2 separate regions of the Homo sapiens genome follow, and region 2 is linked to region 1. Evidence: promoter capture Hi-C in human tissues and cell types (Jung and others, 2019). All regions are on one chromosome and are shown on one strand. The core of a region is centred on a gene start or on the middle of the fragment in contact, and the rest is flanking DNA. Distances in the headings are between cores, read along the strand shown.

Evidence for each region. Contacts are between HindIII fragments. The study calls those that stand out against the background at their distance.
Region 2: a fragment that was not itself captured here is called in contact with the fragment with the promoter of SCN4B in region 1 in 1 of the 25 tissues and cell types used here (spleen).

What each region holds. Positions count from the first base shown.
Region 1 is chr11:118,150,422-118,155,319 of GRCh38, reverse strand. It overlaps SCN4B (sodium voltage-gated channel beta subunit 4), which reads left to right and starts at 2,497. Exons shown (of 5, transcript NM_174934.4): 1 at 2,497-2,707. The coding sequence starts at 2,647. RefSeq lists an enhancer at 1,379-1,879. The HindIII fragment of the contact is 20,039 bases long and covers 1-4,898 here.
Region 2 is chr11:118,621,166-118,625,685 of GRCh38, reverse strand. PHLDB1 (pleckstrin homology like domain family B member 1) reads right to left here. Exons shown (of 23, transcript NM_001144758.3): 5 at 627-752. Among named protein-coding and RNA genes, the nearest start is that of PHLDB1, 16 kb to the right of the region's middle. RefSeq lists a silencer at 4,250-4,339. The HindIII fragment of the contact is 8,405 bases long and covers 1-4,520 here.

The DNA of each region.
Region 1 (4,898 bases), core at 1,248-3,747:
AAACTCTATGAACTGGTGAGGTAGCAGTGAGGTAGCAGGGAAGGTGGGGAGAGGACACTGAGGACGTTGGCCATCTTTTCCTGTCACCAGGATCTAAAGATATCCCTGCAGCTCTGTCCCTCTCCTCCCCCTGCTCTGGGCAGGGGTCACTTTCCTTCCCTTTGGCTCACCTCCTCTCTCACCTCAGTCTAGGGTTCTGAGAAACATGACCCCTGCTGTAAAAATAAAGTGGTCAGTTTGTATGCCTGGCCCTGCGGATCTAGTGCAAGGACCTCCTGGGGAAGGACAGGGTAAGCCTGCGGACCTGGAGACAGATGGGGAGGCTTAGCCTCAGGGCCCACAGACCTCTTTAAGTTCAAATGTACTGAGTGTTTATCCTGTGCCTAGCTGTCTGCTGAGCACTTTTACATGCAATAATATCTCATTCCCTCTTTACAGCTAGGTCCACTTTTGATGTTGCAAGTCCTGGAGCAAAGGTACAAATGGAAATTATACATATGTCTAAATATTAATCAGGATAACAAAGTGTTAAGATTGATGTTTTATCCTCTGCCTTTAATTACTTTTCCTTCATGATAACCTGGAAAACCATGTCCAAAATGAAATTTTCAGGCCATTCTCTGGTACACACTCTTCTCTGGTCCTGTAGTGAGAGGGGCTCTTGTGCATGCCTAGGGTGTGTGTCAAGTTACATGCACTCCCCATCACCTGCATACAGCTGTCCCTTGCCCACTGCTCTAGCCCTTGAGTGCACACCTGATATGGCCAGCCCTTGAAAGGACAGATCTGGGGAATAGGGAATTCCAGAGTTCCTGATACCTGGAGTACAGTCTAGAAGGGGAGGAGGTGCATGCCCCCACCTGCCCTGCCCCCTTGGTCCCATGGACTCATTCTCCAGTGAGGGGCATGGCCAGAGGAGGGCCAGAATGAGGGCCTTTAAAACCAGAAATCAGGGCTGAGGCTTCTGTTGCCCAGGTCCAGGGGTAACATCGCTCTTAATAAGCCTAGGAGGCAAATATCATTGCATTCACCATTTTATAGGTGAGGAGCAGAGGCTCCCCCAGAAGACCATGTAACTTGCTCAAAGCCATACAGTCATAAATGGTGGCGCTGCCAGAGCCTCTGTGCCACTATAGGGAAGGCAGCGACCCTCTCTCCTGAAAAAGCAAACAGACATTCAGCACTTTGCCTGCAACCTCAAGGGGTCCGTGATCACGCCGAAGTCCACCCAGAGACCCCTCGTTAAGAAGGCGGTGCGTTGGTGTGCCTGCAGCAGAAGTCAGACCATGAAGTGGGAGCGGGCTTCCCAGTCCGGACCAGTCCTAGACAGTAAAGAGGGCCTGTGATGCAGGGAGGGTCTTGGATGGTTGGAAAGGTGCTGAGGAGGAGATCGACTCATTTACAGAACCACCAGCCCAAGTAGCACCGCTCAGGTGAAACTCTTTCACTTGGGCCTGTCTGGGAAAAGGCTTACTCGTTCACAGCCTCGCCTCAGCCCTCTGACCTGGTTGTCACCCTGGACTCCTCCACCCCTACCCCAAAAGGGAGGCCGAGGGAGTCTGCCGTTCCGAAGAAAACAGGAGAGTTGGAGGAGGGCGAAAAGGCAGCATCTGAGGGGGACGGCCTAGGTAGGAAAAATGAGAAGCAGGGGTGCAGCGGGAGGGTGAAATGGGGCGCAGGACACAGACCAGGCGCGGACCAACCTGCTCCCTAACCTGGAGCGTGGTGATTTCCAAGGGGTCCATGGAGAAATGTGGGGCGGGGTGGCGTGGGGGTGGGGGAAGGGAGGGCCGGGGCAGTTTGCAATGGGAAAGCTCTGTTCCGGGCTTCCTAAAACAACCGCCGGAGTTGCTGAGCGATGGGGCAGAAGGTGGCGGGAGCGGGTCCCGAGGCTGCACGCGCGCCATGTCGCACGCCACCGAGGAGGCGCAAGCTGCAGTGGGCAAGCCCGCACACGCCCACCCGTTGCGGCAGCGTCCGCTGCGGACTTTAAAGCGGTCCCTTGGCGGTCCTGGGAGAGGGAGCCGCTAACCTTCCCGTGTTCCCCCAAGCAAAGCAAAACAGTCTTCCAGCAACCGAAAAGCTCCACCTCTACTCCCCCCGAACTATGCTCCTAATTGGCAGCTCAGCGCATGGGATGATGCGGGTGGCTGCAGGCCGGCCCTGCAGTGCCAGCCGCAGCAGCCCAGCCCCACTGGAGAGGGAGTTGGGGGCACGGCGTGGTCCCGGGGCTCCGGGACCGCGAGGCGGGGTGCGGCAGGCAGGGTGCGCAGCGGGCGGGGGCTCCCCGGCCTACGCGGCGGCCACCGCCCCTCCTGCGGCTGGAGCGCTTCCAGAGCAGAGGCGCAGCCTCGCTCGCCGCTGCGCTCGCTCCGTCTTCCTCCCGCTCCTGCTCCGGCTCCTCCTACTCCTTCCCTCCCGCCGTTGCTCCAGCAGCCGGCTCCCAGCAGCGGGCGAGCGCGCCTCCCCCTCCGCTCCCTCCCTCCCCCTCCTCTCGCTCTCTGCCCGCTAACTTTCCCGAGCCCCGACCGGCGGCGCAGAGCTCCGGGGTAGCTTTGTGGCCGAACGCCGACCTCGGGCGGAGAGCGCGGCTGTGCCCAGTATCCCATCCCCGCGACCCCCGCGCGCTCCGGAGAGAACAGGACTATGCCCGGGGCTGGGGACGGAGGCAAAGCCCCGGCGAGATGGCTGGGCACTGGGCTTTTGGGTAAGGCAGCCCCAGCTTGGTCTCTTCTCTTGCCTCCCCCCACCCCCAAAGAAGGGGACACTCGAGAAGGAAGATGCCTTGGATGGGGTGGGCTTTGGAGTGCGGCACGGAATGAGGATGGTGGCCGCCGGCTTCCTGCCTGGTTCCTGCCTGGTTCATAGGCTGTGCTCCCTGGGGACCGTGTGCGTCCCTCTCTACCCCATCAGCCCGCCAGTCTCAGGATTAGTTTTTTTGCTGTCCTTGGCACCTTCGGCTCCAGGTATTTGGAGCTGGATCTTGGGGCTGCAGCGCGGGTCTCCAGAGTTCAGAGGTTCAGGATGCTGGAGGAGGGGGGTCCGTGCCTTGAGTGCAGGGGATACCAGGTGGGTTGCACGTGTGACTGTTGGAATGGTGGTTTCCATCCCGGCCCAGAGCCGTTTGCTTGTTTCCCAGGCACCAGGCATGCACCAGTTGGGGGTGGGGGAGTCCCCTTCTTCCTGGGCCCTTTTCCTGCTTTGCTCCTCTGCCCTGTACCTCCCTCAGGAGCCACTGCCTTCCCTACAGCAGCACCTGAAAGCTGGAAGGGGCTGGAGGGGCTTGCGGGATCATTCAAGGCCCTTTAGGAACGGCCTTGTCTCTCTTCCTACAAAGAGATTCCGTAGGGAAGACCTGTTTGACCTGCTCCTGGCTCTTCATTTTTGAAGTGAATATGGAGACAGAGAAGACATGTCCAGAGGACACGGAGGAAGAAGCATTATTAATATCTATTAATATGCACATGAGAGTTTTGAGTGTCAAACTCCAAGAGATTAGGGAATGATATTTATTCATCCAGGATGTAATCTCCTCATAAATCATAGCCAGACTTTAATGTAAGCCGACTCCATCTCTGGCAACGGCATCTCTTCCTGTTTATATTGGTCAGATTTGGCTTTTGGCAGCTCCCTGCATTGGGTAAGACACACGGTGTAGGTATTTCTGCTGAAAACAGGGAGACAGAACCCTATAAGGGAAGTGGCTACTGTTTCTGCGAATGTAAACTGTGTGCAGATCTAGCAGGTTGGTGCCTGGTGGTGAAGAGGGGAGAGAGTATTTCTTGTACTTGGGATGTTTATTTACCTCTGTACCGCTAGATGGAAGACACCCTTGTTTTCTCCTGTACCTTGGCACAGATGTCATGCTGGTTTCACAGTGACCTTAATGAAGTGGGCCTTAGTGACGCCTGAGGCTCCTTTTCACAGGGTGGGCACAGCGCCATTCCATGCTACTTCCCCTCATCCCATCTCAGATCAGCCCAGGTCCCCATGGTGGCAATGGCAGGGGTAAAGGATCACTGAGGAATTCAAACTCAGCCAGTCATTAAACTACCCCACTTCACACCTCTGGCTTACCTTCCTGGGTGGTGGGATGCCAGTCCCTTGTTTGTTAGAATACTCATAGAACCAGGCCTCTGTGGGCAACCAAGAGGGCCCTGAAAATGATGTGTGTGTGTGTGTGTGTGTGTGTGTGTGCACGTGTGTAAGGGGGATTGTAGGCACAGTCTTGGTACATTGCTCCAGGTGGAAGCCCCACCTTCTCCAAGGACTGTTCAGCTGTATAGACCAGGTAGGGGCTAAGGCCTATTGATATAGGTTTAGATGAATTTCTGAGCTACCCTTTGGGAGCCCAGGAGAAAGCAGAGTGACTTGTAGGTGGGAGACCTGCAGGCCCCAGGACTGGCCTCATCTGCTCTGTCCCCTGCCCCTCTGGTCTGCAGAGGGACTCCAACCAAAGTCCCTTTGGCCCTTGACCAGGTAATACTGACTGAGCCCTCACAGGGGCATTGGTCTGAGCTTGGGACATAGATGACATCCTTGCTTCTCAGTCCAGTGGGGGAGATACAGAGACGACTGGACAGCCAACTGGAGGTGTTCCCTGGGAACATCAGAGTTGGCAGCAACTCTGGGAAGCAGAGCACAGAACTCTCCTAGGGATGAGGAAGTCATGGTCCAGAGAGGGATGGTGACTTGTCTAGGGGCTCATGGCCAATTGATGGCCAAGTGGGACAGAATCTAAGTTTCTTGGGCTCTGTCACACCACGCTGCTTCCCACTTAACTCAAGTCTGGTGAGGGGGAAGGTAAATAGTGATTGTGCTTAGGGCTGAAGAATAAGTGAGGCTCTGGGGCATGAGTGTGGAAGGATAAAGACTTGAGGGGCCTAGAGCGGCTCTTT
Region 2 (4,520 bases), core at 316-2,815, 470 kb before region 1:
CACCCCATAGCCATCTAAATGCCAGTGCAAAGTCTGAGATGGTAAACCCATAATAGCCTCCTGGTCTGCACCCCTCCTGCCCCCCTGTGCAGCTGGGCTGAGGGGGCCTGTGTTGGTTCCCCAGAACAATCACCAATTCTCTTCTGGGGATCAATAATTCACACACAAAATACAGCTGCTCCACTGAGTCATCAGCGGGCAGGGCATGGAGTGAGGGTTGGGCGAGGCCCAAGGACATGATCCCCACCACAGCTTACAGGGAGTTCAACCTAATGCTTCCTTCTGCCCCTCAGGGTACCCTAGAGGGTGAGGCTCCCTGTGGTGACACAAGTGGGCCAGAGTTCCAGACACTGAGTGGCATCCTCCAGGGCAGTGGGGTACAAGCTGGCAGAGCTTGCCATCCCTCGAGGCACATAATTTCCCAATTTTAGCTAAGCAGCACTGCCTTGGTTAGCTCTCAGTGGCCCCACTGCCTGGCATTCTCCACCCGCCCATGGCAGGTGGCAGTGAGCCCAGACCTTAGGTATTGTCTTGCCCTAACACTCCAAGTGTGGCTGAAGTGAGCAAGGAGGAGGACTGCTGCAGGAACACCATCAACCCAGCACCCTGCCCCCGTCGGTACCTACCAGGAACAGGGCTGTAGGGGGGCCCAGGGGCTCGGCCCCCTGCTGGAATCATGCTTTTCATCCACTTGGCTTCAGCCGGGTGGTTAAAGCGAAGGAAGGTGGACTGACCCAGGCACAACATGCAGCCTGCAGAGAAAGCAAACACTTGAAGACCAGGTGTGGTGGCTCACACCTGTAATCCCAACACTTTTGGAGGCGGAGGAGGGTGGATCACCTGAGGTCGGGAGTTGGAGACCAGCCTGGCCAATGTGGTGAAGTCCCGTCTCTACTAAAAATACAAAAATTAGCCGGGTGTGGTGGTGGACGCCTGTAATCCCATAATCCCAGCTACTCAGGAGACTGAGATCAGAGAATAGCTTGAACCCAGGAAGCGGAGGTTGCAGTGAGCTGAGATCATGCCACTGCACTCCAGCCTACATGACAAGAGCTAAACTCTGTCTCAAAAAAAAAAAAAAAAAAAAAAAAAAAAGAAAGGAAGAAAGAGAGAAAACACTTGGAAGGGCAGGCAGGACTGAAGTTACCCCACCTCACAGCACTAGCAGGCTCACCTCAGCTCTAAAGACCCATCCTCATCTGCTCTCAGAGTCCACACAGTCCACACCTGACCTTGCCTGTGCTTGAGATGGGCACCTCCAGGGCTCCGCAGCACAAGACAGAGTAGAAAAAGCACTGGTGAGTGAGTCCCAAGATCTGAGTCCTCGTCCTAATTCCTCTTCTTACTAGCTGTGAGATCTCTGGGTGAAGTAACTTCACCTCTGAATCTAGTTCTCTTAATCAGAAAAATGGGGACAATACCACTGATCTTGTAGGGTTAATAAGACAGTGTATGTGAAAGTACTCTGTAAAAATATATTCAGAGAGGCCAGGCATGGTGGCTCACACCTGTAATTCCAGCATTTTGGGAGGCCAAGGCGGGCGGATCACCTGAGGTCAGCAGTTCGAGACCAGCCTGGCCAACATGGTGAAACTCCGTCTCTACTCAAAATACAAAACTTAGCTGGGGGTGGTGGCGTGCGCCTGTAGTCCTAGCTACTTGGGAGGCTGAGGCAAGAGAATTGCTTGAATCCAGGAGGCAGAGGCTGCAGTGAGCCGAGATCACACCACTGCACTCCAGCCTGGGCAACAGAGCGAAACTCCGTCTCACACACACACACACACACACACACACACACACACACACACACAAATGTTCAGAGAACACAGACACACCTGTCCCCCAACCCCAGCCTGTATCCATGATCCATCTATCTGCCCCTTGGGTAGAAGGGTAGAAGAGTCAGTCTGAGAGGCAGCAACTTCCAGGGTCACAAAAAAAAACTGAGATAGGGAACAAGGGGAAAAACCATGGATCAGTCAGATGAACCGGGGGGGTCCTGAATTTGCTCCCACTCTTTCTTGTTTTGTGACCTTAGGAGAGCTGTGCACTGCAAGTCTAGGGAGCGACCACCACCTTTCTTTCTGACTAAGCACCCTCTGCATGCTCCCTGGTCTCCCCTGGCATCAGGCCAAGACTAGGCCACCAGGCCCGGCCTCAGCCAAGCACATTCCCAGGCAGTAGACACAAGCCCAGTCCTGCCCGGGAAGTGTGAGTACCTGGAGGGGGAGGGCATGTGGGAGCTGGAAAATGTAGCCAGGGGCACCTGGAGTGTGCACAGTGGCAGATGTGCCCACAGGCGCCTAACTGTAGCTAGCAGAACTCCACCTCCCAGCCACACCAGGTGCTGGAGGGCTACTGCAGAAGATACTATGTTGGGAGAAGCCAGAGCCCTGTTGCTCTCTACCACCAATCCTTCCAATTTGTCCACACCCCTGGCCCCCGGCCTCAGCCTCCTGTCTACCCAATCTGGTGCCACTTGGCACCCCAAGCTTCACGCCAGTCTGAGCTAAGACTGGCAGAGAAGTCTACATTCCTGGACGCTGAGACAGTTCAGCTCAGGCAGGCCGCAAGGGCAAGAGGCATCCCAGGCCACGTGAGTACCTTGGCAGGTCCCTTACTGAGAAGCTCAGGAGCCTGTTCCTGGGATCCTGGGCATTGCTTGGGTTGGGGGTTTAGTAGGCTGAGAAGCCCATGGCAGATAACCATAGTGGATAAAGCCACTCACTATCCTGGCATACACAAAGGCCCTCCCAGGCAGCCAGACACCAACAATTCTAAAGGAGAGAGAGGGAGCCTTCCCTGCCAAGTCACCAATCAGAGAAGAGGATCCCAGAGTATTCAAAACTGGAATAAATAATAGCCAACCACACTGTCCACCTAATTACAACCACAGCTGTTTCAGAAAGAGCCCTGTCAAGCCCCTCCCCCTCCATTTAGCCATTTAACAAGCCTACTGGTGATGAGTTCACAGGGTCTAGACAGAGCCACTCAACCCAGGGTCGTGGGTGGTAGGGATCAGGAGCCTGACCACACAGTCCAGGCTGGGAAGGAGGCAGGGAGTCTGAGTGGATTCCAGCCCAGCAGTCCCAGGCCCACCCAAGTAGGATGTAGGCATCTAGGGATCCTCTGCCTGGGCCCCTATAGCTGTGTGTTTTCTGCCCCCTCCTCAGCCCTTCACCCTCCCCGGCATAAGGGGGTGTGGCCATGCTGCCTCTGGGCTATAAATAGTGATGCCAGGCAGCAGAGCTGGATCCGTATTAATAGAGCGGGCAGGAGGGCAGCAGGACTGAGAGCAGCCCAGCTCCTGCCCAAATTAACTTTCTATTTGCATGCAGAAGCTTCAGGCATTGCCCTGATGCTGGCCCCTACAGCCCCCAGGGGTCTGGCCAGCCTGTTTCTGGGAAGAAGCCTCCTCTCTGCCCACTCCCACCCCAACCCGCAAAGGCCAGCCCTTTCAGGGAGCCCAGGAATCCCTGCCCATCCTGCCAAAGTCATGATCAGTGTCCCCCATGCCCAGGGGGGATCAGGGTCCAGCTGTGTGCAGGTGGGTGGAGGAGCTGCACATCTGGAGGGGAAAAACTGGGCGAAGGAGAGGGTGAATCCTATCTGTGAGAGATGCAGAGGAGAAACACCAACACAAACAGGCTCACACTCATACACACTCATAGTAACACAACAGACTTATGGGCGTACATGCTCACACACTCTCAGAGCTACTGTCACTGCCCTCCTGGTCACACAAATAGAATGGATTGTCCAAAGGGAGACCGAGTGAAGGGAATATGGGAGGAAGGGCCTTGGTCCTTCCTATCAGAGACCCTCCTTGGCCATAAGGTAGACTCCCCTCATTCTAACCAGGACTCTTTAACCCCATCTGAGGGAGGTGGGTCCTAAGGAGGGGACTGCCGGAGCGCTGGAGAAGATAAGGTCTACCGGCTGAGAAGTGCCCCCAAGCCCAGAATCCCCATTTAGAAATGTTCAGGGAACACACACAATCGAGTCTCTCAGCCTCAAGCTCCCAAAGAAGGTCAGAGGACCCCATGCACCTCCTCCCGCCCACCCTCCTCAAGACGCCCCTCCCAGTCTGAGCTTCTCCAAGCTTGGCTGCTTGGGGACTGTGGCTGGCCCGGGGCTGAGGACTCACCGCCGAAACCGGACCTCCGGACCGCTCGCCCCCGCTAGCTCGGGCCCTCCAGGTCCCGGGCCCGCCCGGAGCCTTTGAGGGGGCGGGCCGACCTCCCGAGCTGCCGGCTCTAGGCTCGGAGCGAGCAGCGAGGCAGCGAGCAGCCGCCAATGCCCGGGGAGGGGCGGGCCGGCCACCAGCGGCGGGGGAAGGGAGCCAGGGAGGGAGGGACAAAGGAGAGGAGGAGGGGAAGAGGAAGTGATGGAGGAGACGAGTGGAGAGCTGGATGGAGAGGGCGGGGCGGGAGGATGCAGAAAGGGAGCCGGCTTGGGATCCTGCATCGAGGGCAGGAAGAAAAGTGGGCGGGAAGGAAAGGTTCAAGGGAGGTGACTGA